7 separate regions of the Homo sapiens genome follow, and regions 1, 2, 4, 5, 6 and 7 are each linked to region 3. Evidence: promoter capture Hi-C in 16 types of primary human blood cells and fetal thymus (Javierre and others, 2016). All regions are on one chromosome and are shown on one strand. The core of a region is centred on a gene start or on the middle of the fragment in contact, and the rest is flanking DNA. Distances in the headings are between cores, read along the strand shown. Region 1 overlaps LOC105373812 (a long non-coding RNA gene). Region 2 overlaps LOC729254 (hCG2045843). Region 3 holds the start of TMEFF2 (transmembrane protein with EGF like and two follistatin like domains 2). Region 4 overlaps LOC124908062 (a long non-coding RNA gene). Region 5 has its middle 81 kb from the start of NABP1. Region 6 has its middle 22 kb from the start of CAVIN2-AS1. Region 7 overlaps LOC124908062 (a long non-coding RNA gene).

Evidence for each region. The method cuts DNA at HindIII sites, captures the fragments that hold promoters and counts their contacts. A CHiCAGO score of 5 or more calls a contact.
Region 1: a fragment that was not itself captured here is called in contact with the fragment with the promoter of TMEFF2 in region 3 in 2 of 17 cell types (endothelial precursors and megakaryocytes); the score reaches 5.4 in endothelial precursors.
Region 2: a contact is called between a fragment that was not itself captured here and the fragment with the promoter of TMEFF2 in region 3, in 3 of 17 cell types (endothelial precursors, megakaryocytes and M0 macrophages). The highest score is 8.6, in endothelial precursors.
Region 4: a contact is called between a fragment that was not itself captured here and the fragment with the promoter of TMEFF2 in region 3, in 3 of 17 cell types (naive CD4 T cells, total CD8 T cells and megakaryocytes). The highest score is 6.5, in naive CD4 T cells.
Region 5: a contact is called between a fragment that was not itself captured here and the fragment with the promoter of TMEFF2 in region 3, in 1 of 17 cell types (megakaryocytes). The highest score is 7.6, in megakaryocytes.
Region 6: a contact is called between a fragment that was not itself captured here and the fragment with the promoter of TMEFF2 in region 3, in 3 of 17 cell types (endothelial precursors, megakaryocytes and M0 macrophages). The highest score is 7.8, in endothelial precursors.
Region 7: a fragment that was not itself captured here is called in contact with the fragment with the promoter of TMEFF2 in region 3 in 1 of 17 cell types (activated CD4 T cells); the score reaches 5.3 in activated CD4 T cells.

Annotation. Positions count from the first base shown.
Region 1 is chr2:191,786,128-191,788,827 of GRCh38, reverse strand. The region is part of intron 2 of LOC105373812 (a long non-coding RNA gene); the gene reads right to left. Among named protein-coding and RNA genes, the nearest start is that of CAVIN2-AS1, 59 kb to the left of the region's middle. The HindIII fragment of the contact is 1,772 bases long and covers 498-2,269 here.
Region 2 is chr2:191,802,783-191,805,482 of GRCh38, reverse strand. The region is part of intron 2 of LOC729254 (hCG2045843); the gene reads right to left. Among named protein-coding and RNA genes, the nearest start is that of CAVIN2-AS1, 42 kb to the left of the region's middle. The HindIII fragment of the contact is 3,576 bases long and covers 1-2,700 here.
Region 3 is chr2:192,193,593-192,196,292 of GRCh38, reverse strand. TMEFF2 (transmembrane protein with EGF like and two follistatin like domains 2) reads left to right here and starts at 1,360. Exons shown (of 10, transcript NM_016192.4): 1 at 1,360-1,940. The coding sequence starts at 1,769. RefSeq lists an enhancer at 839-1,414. The HindIII fragment of the contact is 4,792 bases long and covers 1-2,285 here.
Region 4 is chr2:191,710,725-191,713,424 of GRCh38, reverse strand. All of the region lies in intron 3 of LOC124908062 (a long non-coding RNA gene), which reads right to left. Among named protein-coding and RNA genes, the nearest start is that of NABP1, 34 kb to the right of the region's middle. The HindIII fragment of the contact is 1,342 bases long and covers 772-2,113 here.
Region 5 is chr2:191,757,550-191,760,249 of GRCh38, reverse strand. No RefSeq gene overlaps it. Among named protein-coding and RNA genes, the nearest start is that of NABP1, 81 kb to the right of the region's middle. The HindIII fragment of the contact is 4,933 bases long and covers 1-2,700 here.
Region 6 is chr2:191,823,143-191,825,842 of GRCh38, reverse strand. No RefSeq gene overlaps it. Among named protein-coding and RNA genes, the nearest start is that of CAVIN2-AS1, 22 kb to the left of the region's middle. RefSeq lists an enhancer at 1-95. The HindIII fragment of the contact is 3,647 bases long and covers 1-2,700 here.
Region 7 is chr2:191,728,536-191,731,235 of GRCh38, reverse strand. The region is part of intron 3 of LOC124908062 (a long non-coding RNA gene); the gene reads right to left. Among named protein-coding and RNA genes, the nearest start is that of NABP1, 52 kb to the right of the region's middle. The HindIII fragment of the contact is 4,709 bases long and covers 1-2,700 here.

The sequences.
Region 1 (2,700 bases), core at 134-2,633, 410 kb after region 3:
AATGAGGAAGTAGCCTTTGAATGCGATTTTTCAAGTAGATATAATACCTCTGCTCTGTTTCCTGTCTTTCTCTAAAAATCAGTCCATGCTTACTTATTTTAATTGTAGAGAATTGTACAAATTTTTACTTTTGTTAAAAAATGCAGAAATAGCATAGAATTCTGACTGTCCTTTCCCGTGCTTTGTGTCATAACTGACAGCATGGAGCTTTAGTAGCCTAAAGCGATACAGCAACAGTGCTGTGGGTCATGTTTTTAACTTTAATGACAATCTGTAATTGCCTGCAGCCTGCCTCATTTCTGGCCCTGCTGATTTCTTGAGGACCTGTGATAACACAGCTCCAACTTGGTCCTCTAATCAGGCTCGTGCCCTCTTTTATGTGTTTTTTATATTTTTTCAGGGTTATCAGTCTTATAGTAAAGTAGTCAGAGTCTACAACTCTACCTCCTTCTTCAGGGCATTCCAAAAAATTAGAATTTCCTTCTAGCCTGCAAGCTTTCACAACCGTCTGCTTTTTCCTGTGGCTGGAAGTGGTGAGAGTTTGAATAGCAACAGCTTTGCTTCAAATTGAACTGTCTGATACCGACCATGAAATCCCCTTTAGCTTTAATCTTTTTTAGACATTTGAAATTTTCAAAATACTGCTTGTCAGGGTAAGTTCCCTTTTCCTCCAGTATAGCTGGTTCACATTTGACTTGCACTTAAAAGATGTTGCAGTTATTTCATTCTTCTTAGAAATATTACCATCCTTGACTGTTTACAGAAACATATGTGTGTTCATTTATTAAAAAAAATGGTTTTTGATCACCAACTAAGTGTTAAACATTGTCTTAGAAGGTACTAGAATTCAACAGGGAACAAAGTCTCCATCTCATGGAGGCAGACAGTGGTTGAGATAGACATGATGGCTAGAGAGAAAGGGGGCCTATGACATTACCATTAAACAGGCAATCAGCATAAAGTAAGAGCCAGCTGGATGTGGTGGCAAACAGGCTGGGAAAGAGGACGTCAGGAGCCAGACACCCTGGTTCAAATCCTGCCCCCTCATTGATTAGCTGAAATCTTAGGAAAGTTGATTAACCTCACTGTACCTCATTAGCCTCATTGATAAGATCGAGACAGTAATGGTTCTACCTCAGATATTTGTTGTGAAGGTCAAATAACTTAATACTGTAATGCCCTTAAAGAAGTGTCCAGCACATAAAAAAGTGCTATCAAGTATTTGTAAAATTAAAAAAAAAAACAGATAGTAGGAAAGCATTATGATCTGGGAAGTATATTTTGCTCTGGGAGTTCATTGCAAGTGTGCCTAACCTAGTGTAGGAGAAGTCAAGGATGCTCTTTAGATCTGAAGGAGCAAGAGTAGCCACTACAGAGTGAAAGTAAAGAGAATAGAGTGGTGTCTGTATAGCTAGAACTTAAAATGCCCATGAAAGACAACTAAAAATATCAGGACAACAGTAGGGACCAAATTAAAGAGATTGAGACTTTCAAATTCCAGAAAGCTAGAGGTCAAGAATATACATATTAATAGTGTAGAAAACTATAAACATCATGGATAAAACAGAAAAATATCCCAAAATGCTAAAATTTAGAAGATCCCCAAGATACTTGAAAGAGTAAATAGAGCCAATAGAAGAAAGTGCAGCCACTTCCCTGATTGTAAAAGTAGGAAGCTAATTTCCCAACAAAGTAACACAGATTCAAAATAAACAGCGGCTTCCTGGGAAAAAAAAAAAGCCACACAGAAACAAAAACAAAAACTAAGATATTCTGGAGATATATCCTTACTTTTGAAGGAGGTGCCACCTCCCCCAACCCCAAAAAGAAAAAAAAATAAACTGATCGAGTTGGAAGAAAAGCTCATTCTTAGAATAGCAGCTCTTCTCTTATCAAGTCTTCTTAGCAGTTTCCAGGAACAAAATACAACTTTGTGGTTTATGCAACCCACACTGCCTACATAAAGATGGATGGCAACAGCTTAAGGGTTGCCCTTCCAATCAGTGATCTAAAATAGATTTCATATTCTACTCCAGGGTATTATTCTATTTCCATTAGATTGAATCACATGAAATTGCCATTTTTGTAAGTCAAAAATGATTGAGTAGCAGCATTTTCATATGCTTAAACCTAATATATGTTATGGGAAATTTTTAGTTTGTTGTGATGCTTTTTGCTGAAAGATAAAACCACAAGAGCTGCAAGTGTGCTCTCAATTTCCCAATGAACAGTAAAGTAATGCAGAGCTTACCATTTCATGGTGAAAGCTTATGCACATGCTCTAGTTGCTGGAAAATGTGTCTCCTTATAGAAAGCAAAAATGTGCCTCTTTATAAATTCTGCCCATTAGTACCAGTTCTTTTCTCTGAAGTACCTGGAATAAGCAATATTTCCTTCCCACTAGAGAATCCTGGATACCTCACACATTCTCCAGTCTTTCCAGTTATGTGTCATCAGCACACGTGATTAGCATGTCCTCCATAGTTTAACTCTAGCCCATGAAACAGCAATCTAGGTACACTATGTCAGCTTGCTGAGATTCAGCCTACTCGCAGAAGCATTCTGTTTACACAGCTTTCTGTAACTTCTTAGCCTTGGTATACCATACACAGATATGGCATGTATATCAGAAAAATACTTCGCATTATTTTAAGGAAAGGCATTATGATTTGAGTACCACAATTCTGTGAAGACATTAAG
Region 2 (2,700 bases), core at 140-2,639, 390 kb after region 3:
TAGATGTAGATGAACTCCTAAATGGCATGTTGGTATTTCATAATAGTATCATACTCCATTTGGATTTAAAGTGTTACAACAAAATACTCCCATTCAGTAAATTTGTCTAATGTTAACCTAACTTTGAAAAAACAAGTTATCTAATGTTCCTGCATAGCCCCTTTCTTGACTAGAAGCAGAGAGCTTCTCTGTGCTTGCTAGAAATCTCCAGCCACCCAGCTAGCATCAGCAGGATTCCATCTGTTTGTATCTATGTTCCCTGATCATAATCTTGTCTCTTTTGTTAAATTCTTTGCAGTCCAGCCGTAACGGCCTTATTCCTCCCCAATCCCAGGAATTGTCATAAACGGGCCTTTTTCTGGAATGTGCGTCTCCCTCCCACTCCCCTACTAAACTCTCTCCATCCCTTCAGATCGCAGCACGGTATGAAAGACTCCGTTCTGTGCTTTTGCAGAGCTTCATACTTCGAATCGCAGTTTGTAATCACATCTTTGTTTCCTTGACTATTTGATTAATATCTATCCCTCCCACTAGCCTGGAAGACCCATGAGAGCAGGGTCTATGAATGATTCATCACCATCGCAACCTTACCATTCCTGGAACCCAGAAGAAGCTAAATAACTCTTTGTTAACAACATGAATGGTCTGACCCTGCTTGAGAAACACAAAACCTAGATCACCAAAGTAATCATGCATCAGCTAATGACAGGGATACGTTCTGAGGAATGCATCATTAGTAATTTTGTTGTTGTGAGAACGAAATATTCTTACAACATATAGTGTACTTACAGAAACCTAGATGGGATGGCTACTATACACCTAGGCTCTATGGTGGCATAGCCTATTCCTCCTAGGCTACAAACCTGTATAGCCTATTACTGTGCTGAAAAATGTAGGTAATTATAACACAGTAATTATTTATGTATTTAGACATATCTAAACATAGAAAAGAGACAGTAAAAATACAGTGTAAAAGATAAAAAATGATATGCCCGTCTACAGTATTTAGCATGAACGAAGTATGCAGGACTGGAGGTCCCTCTGGGTGAGTCAATCAGTGAGTGATAAGTGAATGTAAAGGCCTAAGACACTGCTGTACGCTACTGTAGATTTTATAAACACTGTACACTTAGGATACATTAAATTTATTTTTAAAGTTAAGCAATTGTGCTATGACATTACTATGACTACATCACTAGATGATAGGAATTTCTTAGCCCCATCATAATCTTATGGGACCACCGTCATATATGTGGTCTATCATTGATAGAAACGTCATCATGCAGCACGTGGCTGTGTATTCAGAAGGGCCATTCTCTGAGTATCATCTGCAACCCAACCCTTGCCTTGCAAGGTCCAGGGAAACTGTGAGGTATGTAATGTTCCATAAGACCTTTTCAGAAACTTCCCTAGTTAACAGGGAGCCAATGAGGTAGAAATGAAAAGTGTACTCACCTCGTGGTCAACACTACAATTCACTCTAGTGGGCCCACACCCTTCGATGATCATTTTTCTGGGTCTTCTCCATTGGGCCCTAGTTTCATCTGTCTCACTCACTCCTGAATCACCAGCACTTAACAGACTGCCCGCTATATATTAGGTGCTCAATAAATATTTATTGAATAAATCAATGGCCAATCAACACCTGACCTAAGACTTCCCCTTAGCACACAGTTCCCTGATGCTGCCCAGTGGCAGAGTGTGTGGCACATATGCATTTGAGTTTTTCCACATTAATCTCACTTTCCCTTTCTAAGTCACTAATTATGTTTTCTCCTTGACTCATTAATTTCCACACATAAACTGCCATTTCTCTCTGAAAGGTTGGTAGCAAAATAAGTTGACCAAAAGGACTCTTTTTCTCAAAACTCAAAAAACTAAAGAAGAAAAAAATTGTCCGACTCTTTTTTCAACCAAATGTGCCTTTGAAAGATTTGATATTTGAGCTCAGCATCCAACTCTCCAATTATCTAAATAATTCCACAAGTACAAAATACCATATTTACATATGCAAAGCAAGAACAAGAAATTAGAATACTTAATTTATTCACACAATTGAATGTTGAAACAACTGCAAATTCAGACACTTTTTTTTTGCAAATTCACATCTCCAAAGTAGCCTTATCATGTACTTCTTTATATAGCCTCATGGTCCTCAAAATCTCATCTTCAAACAATTGACATTTTAGAGACTTAAGTATTTAGGTAAATATTTGAAATATGTTTGCAAATTGAGGTTCCATAAGCAAGGTTGTTAACTTACAATCCTTACCTGAAAATGAGGTCATTGGTTTGCAAACATTTTGTTCTAATACCTAGGTGAGGAAGGAGGAGGGGGTACATTGATGGCTTAATAGCTTTTTCTTCCCAGGTAGACTCATTTAGGATGAAGGTGATTATTCAGAAATCCATTTTATTCCAAGCAAATGTCTTTACCCTGGGAAAATAAATAGAGCTACTTCTGGCGATTGTTGCCATTTTATTCAGTGTTCTTCCTTATTACTCCCAATAGTTTAAATAAATATCTATAATAGTCCCCATCCTCCTTGTAATCCCATATAAAATTTACCCCATTCAAAAAAAAATGTATTCTAATGAAGTTATAACCTTTCTTCAGTCTTCTAGGTCAACACTTAATGCTCTCCTTTTCTAATTTTATACCATTTCACAGCAGAGTTAAGGTTCAACTCCATCCTGGAA
Region 3 (2,700 bases), core at 111-2,610:
AACAGGAATCACTGAATAATCACACACCAAAAAGAAAGCTCTTCCCTATGGGGCATCCAAAACACTGAGACTGCAATAGTGACCCCGGTCATGGAAGAAAGATGTTCCTCTCCACCCTTGTCCCCGAAAGCTCTTGGTCCCGTTACTGGCGACTAAAATTCCATTAGGCTAAAGAGTGTGTCTAACTGCCTGAAGAATGCAGCAGACGGAAGGCGGGTCCCGCTATGCCGTTTGCCCTTCCCGCTGGAGAGAATGAAAGAAACGCGCAGAGCCAGAGACTCCTGCCGAGTTAGACCTTCTCTCGTCGCCCCAGGTCACCGGCCATCCGGCAAAGACCCGAGTAAGGAACGCAGGGTCACTGCCTGGGCCAACAAATGGAGCCCGCTCTCCCCTTCCCGGACGCCGCTGCCCGGCCGATGCTCCCGGCAACCCACCCGCGGCGTATGCAGAGGAGCCTTTCTCTTTCTCTCAGACCACTTGTCCCGACCAATCTGACCTTCCAAACACATCTGACCGCACCTCCCAGGTGGACACACTAATAGGCTACGGGCTGGAGAGGAGCGGGTGATGAGGAGAGGGATTCAAACCTGCGAACGCTTGGGCTGGGTCGGAGCTGCGGGGGGCCTGGGAGGAGAGAGGGGAGAAGAGAGAAGGAAGGAGAGCGCCTGCCGGGATGGCTGAGCTGCCTCGGCGAGCAGCCTTGGGGTTGCACGCTCTTGTGGGAGATGCTGCTGTTGCTTCCAGGTCGGCAAGAGCGGTTCTAACACCATCGCCTCTCACCCTCTTTCCTGTAAATCCCTAGAGAAACGTCCCTGGCCTCTCCGCCGCGACATTCCCAGCCTGCATCCCCCTACAGCCTAGGCGGCGCGCTCCCGCACGCTGGAGCGCCGGTCGCCAGCAGGACGCCCTCTCCCGCGCCGACTCGCCCCTCTCTGCCCTGCTGCTGCTGCTCCTCTGACACCTCCGCCCCCACCATCTCCAGCTCGGAGAGACGCCACCCAGCCGCGGCCCGCACTCGCGGCCCGGGGTCACGCGCGGAAGAGGGGCGCTAGTCCGGACCCCGCCTTCGGTAGGGGGCGTCCTGGAGCGGAGAGTGAGGCGAATGGTATATGAGTGTGCGGGTAGCCCACCCTGAAGCCCGAGCTTCTCATTTGAGCCATCCCCGCCTAGCCCCACTCGGGCCAGCGCCTGGCGAGCGAGCCCATCTGTGGCTTCCGCGGCCGCCTCCTCCTTGCATCCTTGCACCTCCTCGTCGACCCCTCCCTCCCGGGACCTGCATCCTGCTCCACCAATCAGAGCCCGACTGCCTCTTCCCACGTGACCCCGGGCGGGCTGAGGACCTGCTGCTTCCCAAACGCCAGAGGGATGCGGGCGGCAGAGCTCGAGAGGCGGCTGCCGGGCTGCGGGGCGCCTTGACTCTCCCTCCACCCTGCCTCCTCGGGCTCCACTCGTCTGCCCCTGGACTCCCGTCTCCTCCTGTCCTCCGGCTTCCCAGAGCTCCCTCCTTATGGCAGCAGCTTCCCGCGTCTCCGGCGCAGCTTCTCAGCGGACGACCCTCTCGCTCCGGGGCTGAGCCCAGTCCCTGGATGTTGCTGAAACTCTCGAGATCATGCGCGGGTTTGGCTGCTGCTTCCCCGCCGGGTGCCACTGCCACCGCCGCCGCCTCTGCTGCCGCCGTCCGCGGGATGCTCAGTAGCCCGCTGCCCGGCCCCCGCGATCCTGTGTTCCTCGGAAGCCGTTTGCTGCTGCAGAGTTGCACGAACTAGTCATGGTGCTGTGGGAGTCCCCGCGGCAGTGCAGCAGCTGGACACTTTGCGAGGGCTTTTGCTGGCTGCTGCTGCTGCCCGTCATGCTACTCATCGTAGCCCGCCCGGTGAAGCTCGCTGCTTTCCCTACCTCCTTAAGTGACTGCCAAACGCCCACCGGCTGGAATTGCTCTGGTAAGTCCAGAACCCCCGTCCCCGACCCTTTAACTCCGCAGAAGAACACGCGTATCCAGCACAGACCAGCCTACCCTAGCGCGCCTCCTCAGCCCCTCACCTCCTACTGCCCTAGACCCCTAATACCACCCACCTCTATCCAGAGAAACAAGGGGAACTGTTGCAGGCCCGGGGGTGAGGGGTGGTTCTGGGATGGGCAGAAAGTGCAGGTGTAGCAGGAAACCTTTGCATGCTTGCGCTTACATTGGAGCTGCGAGGATTTTGAGAAATATTAAACGGGATGGTTTTCTGGGTTCACTGTTTTGAAAGAGCACCAATCCTAGGGGAAACACTGAAACAGAAGCTTTGTCATCATTAAAGAAAAAAGTCTTACTAGGATGAGGAAGAAATAACTTTATGAGAAAGAATGAGCGAGAAAGCAATAAATCAAATGGTGACTGCAGGGGAATCGCTGATTCCTGGCAAAGGTGCCATGAGGTCGCACTGGTCTCCCGTTGAAGACCAGGTCACACAGATTCTAGAGGAGCTGGGTTTCAATAGAATTTCTCTCTCTCTCTCTCTCTCTCTCTCTCTCTCTCTCTCTCTCTCTCTATCTATCTATCTCTCTCTCTCTCTCATTCCCTTCTCTCCTAGGCGGCAAAAGACATTGGTTTTGCAGTCCAGATATGCCCCTCTCTTTGCTTCCCTAAGCTTCAAGGTAGTACAGGGGAGTTGAGAAAAAGAACACTTTGCGGGTCTCCCAGGCCGGAGTGGGCATGAC
Region 4 (2,700 bases), core at 193-2,692, 480 kb after region 3:
GCTTAAGCACTAACATTTTGAATTTCTAGGCAACACCATCCCTAGAGTACCTCAATCTGTTTTAGCAAGGAGACACTTCTTGAATCAAATCAGTCCTAATGTTTGGATTCCTTGCTTACCAAACCTCTGCCAGTCCAGGCATTCTCATCTCTTGACGGTTGTATTGCTCTCTAAAATTTAACAAATGGATCCATAGGAGACAAGTCTCTGAGAGCTAGGTTAATCCAGGCCCCACCAAAGGGATAGCCCTGTCTTGGTATGCTGATGAAAGGAGACTTCTGAGCTCCAGAGCTGGGGACTAGCTACATCCTGATGGTGGTGTCATACTTCCAGGATGAATGCCATAAGCTACGGACATTGACTGGCTACAGCTGTTGACTGGCTAGCCTCCCAGGAGTCACCTCTCTGCTTTACTGTGTACCTTTGTAAGCATCACCTGTCCCCACAGAGAGCCAGCTGAGGAGAGGAGGAAAACGGCAGATACCACTTGGAATCAGTGGTTTGTCATGAATACAAAAAAACTCTGGAGTCCCCCAGAAAGGTGTGAAGAATTTTTAATCCTCTGGATTTATCTACAGAGCAAATAGAAGCAGGACCAGAAAAAAAAAATCCATTTTGTGTCTGTCATTGTGACTATATTTTGTTGGGCCAGTGTCTCTGGGAAACTTTGTTTATACCATATTTATCATAAACCTAACAACATTCAAAGTCACTTACTGTTGGTTTTTATGCATTCCACCCAGTCAGCAATAGCCTCCAAATTACCAAGCTTGTCTATTGATTCTCTTGGTGTCTCTAAAGGATTTGACATTGTAGTTCACCAGTTCTCTTCTCTCATTAGGCACAACAATGTGGCAATATTAGAGCTCACTTCCTATCTACTCCAGAGCCTCCTTCACTAGTTCCCACTTCTCCCGATCCTAAGTGACTTTTCAGTCTTCAGATCTCTAGTCTCCATCTTATCTTTTCCCCCAGCAAGTCCCAACCCATTCTGATTACTCAAAACACACTCAATTAATATTTACATATTGAGCAGCTCCTGTGTGGCATGCTACCATCTCCCTCCATGTTACTCAAGCCCATCCTCAGTTGGTGTCCTGAACTTTAGATGCATGTCCGTAACACAAGTGCCGGACATGTACTTGCTGATGGCCTACCATCACCTCCATCAAAGCACAGTACAACATTTGTGCTTTCTTGCAAGTCAAAACAGCCTAAACACAGATGACAATTATTGACTCAAGCCCAGATATAGAGTAGATTTCAGGATTCTGGCTTCTTTTCTATCTCCCTCAGCTCTGCTGTCTTCCATGGGTTGCTTTAATTCTCAGGCAGGCTTTTTCATGGTAAGATAATTGTTGCTGTAGTTCCAGGACTCAAATGTGCATCTCAGATGATGGAAGAGAGCCTCTCTTCCACAGCCACCGAACAGAAGCTAAGGGTTTTATTCTGACTGATAAATTGGGGCCAGTGTCTACCCCAATTTGCAGATGTATGATCCCTGTGATCAGAGAAATGCTATGAGCTGTTGGTGTACGGCATGGCTACAGGCTCATTCCTGGACTAGTTACTCTGGCAGGCAGATGTGATTATCATGAGTAGCTTAGGCCAAGTACAGCCTATGTCTGGAGCCAGAGGTGTGGTCAGTCCCACCAAGAGCATGGCTTCTAAATAGCAGAAGAATGGTGGAATGGATACTGGGAAGAAACCAGTAGTTTTAACTATAGGATCTTGTTTATTTGTAACCCAGTGAAAAGGAATAATTCTCTGTAGCTAGGTTTTCTAGACAGCTAAGGGTTCACTTCTTATGTTTTTTAACCAGTTTGAACAATATAGTTGAAAAGTGTATTTTTTTGTATTTCTGACTTTTAAAAGATATATACCAAAATTAATTTAACCATTTAATGACAATTTGAGGTCATCAAGATATAAATGTATTATTACATCAGTCACAATGCAGTGACTGACCTCAGGATTACTGAGCTGTGTGTGACCCCAGAGCACTCTTCACTTTAAAAAATTATATCTACTTTTTATGACTTTTCTTTTTCTTCTCTTTCTCTAAATTGCTACTTCTAATCTACAGTGGTATTGAGAACCAGATAATAAAGCTTTTAAAATTTCATATAAATTTAAAGTAGAAATGAAATTGCCTAGGAAGAAATAGGCAAAAGTGCAAACTATGCAGGCAAAGTGCATATTGCCTCTGCATAGGGACATTAACAGTTTTTGTTTGTTTGTTTGGTTTCTCTTTTTTTTCCTATAGCGATTAAGAATAACTTTATGATTTTACACACACACACACACACACACACACACACACAAATGAGTGAATGAAGTAAATAGGATTTGTGTGGTGCCTTCAAGTTCCCCAAGTGGAAAAATGTTCTAGCTGTTAATCCTTGCAGTCTGTGACAACCCTCCTAGCAAATTAGAGGCCTTGTTGTTGAATGCGTGGTTGCCTGGTATGTTTGGCGTTAGAGAGCAGAAGTGGTCATGGAAAAGCCAGAACATATCAGGAGGAAGGTCAGTCACCTATCTACCATGCGGGCTTAGCAGGGAGCCCTTGACCTGGTAGGTCACCCCCAGGCAGAGACTGGACTACAGTCTTATAAAGAGGGAAATTCAGTCTTGCCTGCACCCCAGGGTTGGATAAATGGTGAGGGTGATGACTCAACACTGTGGAAACTCAGAAGTGAC
Region 5 (2,700 bases), core at 17-2,516, 440 kb after region 3:
CATGTATTATAAAATATATGCAAATAGAAGGCTAATGATGGTTAACTCAGAGCCATTGGATTATGAGTTATTTTTATTTTCTTCATTACACTTTTTATATTTGCTAAATTTTTAATAATAAATAATATTACTGTTATAATCATTTTTTAAAAGGTAATTTAAAAATTTCAAAGTGAAGGATGGCAGATGTTGGCCATTGAGCCTTAGAATTCTAAGCAGGATGGAAAATAAAGTGTTTTATGCCCCCAAATGGCAGCTCCCACACATCAATCAGAGACCAGCCATGCACATTATTCCTTTTAGAAGCAAAGCCAGACAGCACTGTGCGCAAATCAGTATCTCACAGTTACGTACCGTTGCCAGGAGGGAGACAACACAGAACAAGTTCAGCACAGAACCCCAACTTCAAGTAGAAACAGGTTTTCCTCCTTGCTGTGGGCCTAGAAAGGATTACAAGCATATTGCAGAGCCCTCCAGAGTCAGAAGGGAAGAATGAAACCACATGAATTTTAATTAAATTCTAAAATAGGACATAGAAACTAGTTGGAATAACTGAAGAATACGCCAGATAAACACATCAGCCATAGCACAGTTCACAATACAACTTCCCATCGGGCAAAAAATACAAATGATAATTTTGATACGGACTCCTAGAAGGAACACCCATTCCAAATGTGAGTTAGCTCCTTCACATTGAAAAATATCATTTTCAATAAGCTAATGGAAAGTTAGCTTTAGGATAACAGGGACTTTTTTAAAACCCTGTGGTGTCATTGCTATATGTCTGTTGACTTAAATAGTGTCTGTTGCCTAGTGGGTACTCAATAGATAATTATTAAATTAAGGTTGGATCAATAGAATTACTATAAACCTTGGTAGTCTATCTTTAGGTTAATTGACCTCACTTTCATAGGATTTGAACTCATAGCCAATCAGAGCCAGCAGTGAGGAATTAATGAGCACAACTTGTACACTGGAGAGGATATTATGTTAGGAAAAATCCTATCTCAGTATCTGAAAAGGAAGGTAAACCTCTTCCAATTCAGGTCCGTCTGTTTAACATGAGAAAACTAATATCTGAGTCTAAAGTGAGTCACCCCAGGACACTTCCCTAATTGATAGCGAAACCGAGTCACTGCCACCTAGTGGAGGGGTCTGCTCCTCTCGCCCTTCCTCACACTGACTAGATGGGCAGGTGGAAGCATGTTCCGTGGAGCCAGCTGTATGCCTCCTGCCTCACTCTCCTCTCAAAATAGGACCACCCCCCATGCTACCCCACACTCTACACCTGGCACCTGCCATTCTCATATTACTAACTCTAAAAACTTGATGTGGGCAGCATTACTTTTATCAAGACTAATGGCAAAGATCCTTTTTCAGATCAGTTGCCAACTGATTTTGAAACCAGCTCAAGGAATGTCCTTTCTGAAGGCACCGAATATTGCAAGCCTAGTAGACTTCCTGCTCCTTGCAATTGTGTTATTCATCCTCGAAGTCTCTACATTTGACATTTTGCCATTGTCGGCTCATTAAATAAATTACTTATTAAAATAAAAGTGCATCCTGCATTAAGTGCCCGGCCTGCTGACATCGAGCTGAGGAATGATTCCAATCGGCTTTCAGTGTCATCTGATTGCATCGAGCCAGCCTGGCTGCCAGCCCCCAAGCGGCCCTATAGAGGCCAGGGACACACAGAAATTGAGAGCACAGGGTACACAGTAAGGCCTGCTTCCAATGAAGAGGAACACTTTTACAATTTGAGGGCCAAAAACATAATATGACGCCATTGTGGGCCACTTTCTGTTCTTAGCAAAAATCTTTAATTTGCAAATTTCCTTTCTTATATTCAAGGAATATAAGAAAACATAATATATTTTCTTATATTCAAGGAATATAAGAAAACGTAATATATTTTCTTATATTCAAGGAATATAAGAAAACGTAATATATTTTCTTATATTCAAGGAATATAAGAAATATATTTTCTTATATTCAAGGAATATAAGAAAATATATTTCTTATATTCAAGGAATATAAGAAAATATATTTTCTTATATTCAAGGAAAAGACCTGGCAGGATCTCTCCCAGATAGGAGTTGACAGTAGCTCACCAGAAACAGAGACAACACCATTATGAACAAACTTCAAGGCAAAGGAAAGACTTGAATTCCCTTTCTTCTCACCTCAAAATCCGTTTCCAAAACTAAAATTCAAGCAGCAAACATAACATTTGAAAAATGAGATGCTCCCTCCCCCTCCATTTTCACCTGTTTCTCTAGAATGTGAAGCAGCAAATGTAGATTTCTGTGATTTCTGTGCAAGGAAAATTGGAGCAGATAGGGTCTTAGCTGAGCTGGGAATGTGATAAATATTTTCATGGACTGCTGAATCTCACTAATTGGATACTTTAATGAAACTTGAGGTATCTCTTCCTAACTTCTAACACACTTTTAACCCTTACAACTTGTATGGGCAATTTTTTAAACAGAAGAATGTTTGATCCAAGAAAATCAATTTTTTTTTCAAACAGAAAGTCCAGTGGTAAATTAATAACAGCTCCTAATAAAGAAAGGATCATTGGTTTTTTCTGCTGCCTTCAGAACAGCTAATAAAGACTATTTCTTCCCAGTGTTCAATCAAAATGAAATGAACATTAATTGGACATTAAGTACTAAGGAAATGCCCACTAGTTCTTTCTCA
Region 6 (2,700 bases), core at 10-2,509, 370 kb after region 3:
CTGCTATTTGGTCGGGAAGTCTCAGACTAGATCAGGACCTATGTCTCCATTTCTCCTCTACAGAGCACTCACTAAGCCTCTACCTGGGCCAGCCGTGGTAGTTCATGCCTATAATCCCAGCACTTTGGGAGACTAAAGCAGGAGGATCACTTGAGGCCAGGAGTTTGAGACCAGACTGGAAAACATAGCAAGGTCCCATCTCTACAAAAAATTAAAAAATTAGCTGGGTATGGTGGCATGTGCCTATAGTCCTAGCTTCTCAGGGCTGAGTCAGGACGATTGTTTAAGCCCAAGAGTTCGAGATTATAGTGAGCTATGTTTGTGCCACTGCATTCCAGCCTGGGTGACAGAGCAAGACCCTGTCACTTAAAAAAAAAAATTAAATTATTATCTGCCTCATGCATGAGGTAAACCAAATTCCCCAAAGAACCTCTAGGAGGAAAGCACTGCTGCCCAGGAGAATAGTTTTTATATGAGACCGTGAAAGATTGGATAAAATTGGGCCTCTGGAATGGTGCTGACATGCTGTCTTAGGGTGACAGTGACCCTGACTTTGGAGGGACACAGAACAATTCAGGACTCTGCCGATTCCTGGGCTTAAGCCACACACGTGAGCTGGCATAATAGCTCTTTAGACTGCGGTGCCACCTCCAGTGTATGAAGGAACCAGGATGGCACAAGGTATCCTCTACCTAGAGCTGTCATTCTACTTCCTCCACAGGCTCTACACCATGGGTCAGGCTTTGGGGTGGCCTTGCCCATCTGCACAAAGAGCTTTCAAGATCTTTGCTCTCCTTTACCCCGTGACTCTTCAGATCCATTTTCTCTCTTGCCTTACATCATGTGTTGATGTTGTAATGTGCCAGGCTGGTCTTGAGCCATGCTAGACAAGGGATGGACATTTCTTGTGCAAATGGGACCACTCTTCTTATCCTCTGTAGGTCCCTCACTTATTTTCCCCACTGGTAGAAGTGGTGGAAGGCAAACATACAGCCAGCACTAAAAGAGATCACATTGTAGGAATACAGTGGCCACTGCCTAAAGCATTCAGCAGAAGACATACTGGAAAATACAGTATTCTAAGTTTACATGCTGTAAAATTCTATACAGTAAATTTTACATGACCAGAAAACAATGTATCATTCACATTTTTCTGCATATGCTGGATAAGATTTGCATTTGTGGTCATCATCAACAAAGCGTAGTAACAGCCTTTGAGACAGTCATGAGAAACCAGTAGTCATGGGTGACAATATGAATGATGCAGCCTCATGAGTAATGATGCAACCAGCATTAAATAAATGGTATTAGAGAACTGCAGAGGCAGAGGTCTATACTGTTTCAGCACAAACAGAATCTAAAGAGCCGTTGCATTGTGAATAATAACAGCATTGCTACCTGTTTCTCACATGGTGGAAGATATGAAATTAGCCAGGAACCACACATTTGACAATAAAGAACCAGAAGATACAATGCCAATCTACTGGCTGATATAAGGAATCATTACAAGCAATGATTGGACAATAAACGAATGTGTAAGTAGCTCCACTTTACCCATTTTCTGAAGAATAAACTTTGTAACACTTTTTAAATCAAATTGTTTATACAGACAGAGGACCCACAAAAACTATTTACCTGAGGCCCTGCACATTTTTGGGATGACCCTGAGGAAAACTCTTGGGGAAAGGAAGCAGCTAACCTTCCAACATACAGTTTCATCTTTTCTCAATATAGATTTCATATTACATGGTTTTGGAATCTTCATGACTTAATGCAACAAATATTTTACATATGCAACGAAATAATTACCACTCTGTGATACAAAGACCCTCTGACACAGACGGGACTTTTGCACCTTTTTTTTTTTTTTTTTTTTTTTTTGGTAGCTGTTGGTCTGTTGCATTTTTTCCTGCTTGAAGAGGGTTCTCAAGTGTTCAGATGAGGCTTGCTTACTTACTTAGTCAATCAACTGCAGTAAAAGAGTTCTTTCTAGACTGACCTTCAACACCCAGAGTATTTTTGGATGACATCACTGTCATTAATTGGTAAAAACTCAGAGAATGTAAAGTAATTTTCAGGTTAGCCTTAAATATTTTAATTATAGAAGAAAACCTGCTCTAAAAACATATAAATGCATGTTAATAACATATACAGGTTATTGCTGAAATATCTCTTGGATCTTTTCCTTTTTTATGAACATGGATAATTAAGGATTAACTATATTTTAAGGATTCCGTTTTACCAATGGTCTGTTTTTCCCACAGTCGTATCTACAAAAATAATTACTTATTCACAAGTGATTAATCTTCCTTGACGACTTAAAGTATTAGTCTAATCATGCAATTACTAGCCAAACAACTAAGAGAGGCTAATAATGAACTTCTAGTTTCAGTTCTAGTTCAAGGAATCTTGGCTTATTTCTAGAGGGAGGCAAGAAATAATTAGAGAAGAAGACTGAATTTTAAACCAACATATTAAACCAACTTAAAGCGGTGACATAGCCAATTTATAAGCATATGAAAATATCCTTGTGTCCTTCCTCTTTTTTGTTTTTGTTTTTGTTTTTTTGAAACGGAGTCTCGCTCTGTCTCTCTGGCTGGAGTGCGGTGACGCCATCTTGGCTCACTGCAAGCTCCACCTCCCGGGTTCACGCCATTCTCCTGCCTCAGCCTCCCGAGTAGCTGGGACTACAGGCGCCCG
Region 7 (2,700 bases), core at 140-2,639, 470 kb after region 3:
TTGGCTTCCACATTATCCTGTTTCTCTCCTATATCACCAGCTGCTCCTTTTTAATTTTCGTTGCTGGTTCTTCCTTTAACTCTTTTATGTTGCAGTGTCCCAGGGCTCAGTCTTTGATCCTGTTCTTTTCTATAACTACAATTACTCTTTGGTATCATAGCAGTATTGGGGCTTTCAGAACCAGTGATATGCTACTGACCTCTAAATTTACAAATCCAACTAGAAGTTGCTGATTTGTATGTCCTTGGATGTAAAATAAGCATCTCAAACACAGCATGCTAAAATCTGAATACTTAGTCTTACTGCCAAAACCTGCTCTACCCTCAGCCTTCTCTATTTCAGTGGATGGCAACTCCACATTTATCAGATGAAAAACCCTAGAGTCCTCTTTGACTTTGCTCTTTCTTTCACAGCCACATGTAATTCAACCACAAACCTTGCTGGCTGTTCTTTCAAATCTATGCAGAATCTGAATGCTTTTCACCACCTCTCTGCTGCCATGTGGTCTAAGCCAGCATCTCTCACCTGGCTACTGGAATAGTCTCTGAACAGTTCTCCCATTTCCACCCTTGCCCCTTTACAAATTAATCTGAACAAAGCATCCAGAATGATCTTTTTAAAACATGTATATCACTCTTCTGCTCAAAATCCCCTGCTTTCTCCCCCCATTCACACAGAATAAAAGACAATGGCTTACAAGACCTTACAGGCTGACAATACCATCTCACTCATCTCTCTGACCTCATCTCCAACTATTCTTTCCCTTAATCACTCAACTCCAGCCACACTGGTCCCCTCCTACTCCTGGAACATGGACCAAGCAGGCTCCAGTTTAGCCACTATGATTTATCTGTTCTCCACTCCTGGATGTGATTTCCAGCTTGGTTAACTCCCTCACCTTCTTTTCATGACTTTGCTCAAATGTCACCATAGCATGAAGTTTTTCCTTCACCACCTTTTTTATTACTGCAGTGACACACTGCAACAACACACCTGTACAAATACACACACACACAACACACACAACACACACACACGTAATGTCAATCTTTACTTACCGTATTTCATTTCTATTTTCTATGTCATTTATCTTCTTCTAAGATAATTGTTTATTTATTTATTCCTTTGCTGTCTACTCACCATCTTTCTTTTCCCTACCTCCCTATCCTATAATGCAATAGAAAAGCTCTTTAAGGGCAGGGATCTTTGTAATATTCATTGGCCAACTTCAAACCTACAAATTCATGTAACATGTGCAACAAATCAATAAACAATGTCCCCTTGGAATTTACAACCCACAGATTTCAGGTACAATTTCAGGCTGTATAGCTAATTAGAAGAGCTTGAACTCAGACATTCTGAATATAAATTCATTAATCTTTCCACTATATTGCTCTAACTTCGACAAGAACCTTTCTCAAACCCTTGAAACACCAATACTTATCGATTTTTTTCAAGTTAATAAAATAAAATATGTTATTTTAATTTGGTCATTGATTATTAGCACAGATAAACACTTTTTCATGATTCTTTGCTGAGTTAACTGTGAATTGATGGTGTACTTTGCACCTCCAACACTTCTGTTCTGTGGCTTAGAATCATTGCTTTCGTAGACCTCTTTACTTTCTCTTTACTACAATTAGCAACACTAGCAGATGATTTTCTTTTATAGCCCATTTTACACAAAGAAACAAAGTTTTTATCACTTCAGGAGCGCTAGTGTGCATGATAATGAGTGTAGAACAACATAGCCAAGTTAAAATTCAGAGACTGTTGCTGAACCCCTCCCCCTTACTTCTGTGAGTCATTCCAGACACATCAATATTGCAAAGCCTGCAACCGAAATTCATTCCTCAGCAAAATTGCAAATCATTACATGTTAAGTTGCTTGAAAATAGTCAAAACTGCAAATGTTTAAGCCTCAAATCCCAATAATCTACTGTAATTGGACTCAATCATTACAACAGACATCCATGAAGTAGGGGGTAGGACACAGATGAAGAAGAAAAATATATGGAAATCCAAATAACTAGGAGCTTAGCGCTTAGAGTTAGAACGTTTTCTGCTTTGGGCAACCCTCTACTCTTCCAGGTGGTGGCAGTAGGAAGGTAGTAAAAACAATGAAAACTGTGACAGCAAAAAAAAAAAAAAAAATTAAATTAAATTAAATATTATGACTATGACTCATAAATATAAAGTGTATCAAAATTTACATAACTTACCAATAAGGGAACCAGTAGGATGACAAAGCTCCAAAGAGTATTTGGAGAACTAAGCAGTTACAGAAATTGAAGGAACAATGTTGCAACAAGATTGCTAGGGTAGATCTATAATTGGTTGATATTTTACAGAGCAATAAAACCATAACCTTTCGGGTTATATTATTCTACTAAACAGAAATCATTTGCTTCTCTACCAGACAAAACTCTATGCATTAACATGTAATTTCACAGAACCTGGGCCCTAATCAATAATAAATCATCTGTTAAACAAAGGGTAATCTCCCAAAGAATTAAGTAATCCTGTTAGACAGTGTTGTAGTCTGACACAGAAAGGACACTCAGCCATCCCTTTGCCTTATTTCTAATTTGTTGATACTTTTTTTAAAGAATTAAAGTATAGGAGCCCTCTCTTTGAGTTGCCTTTGGAGAAACACACTATTCTATTACATTAGAAATGTGTCTGGTCTGTTTTGAAAGA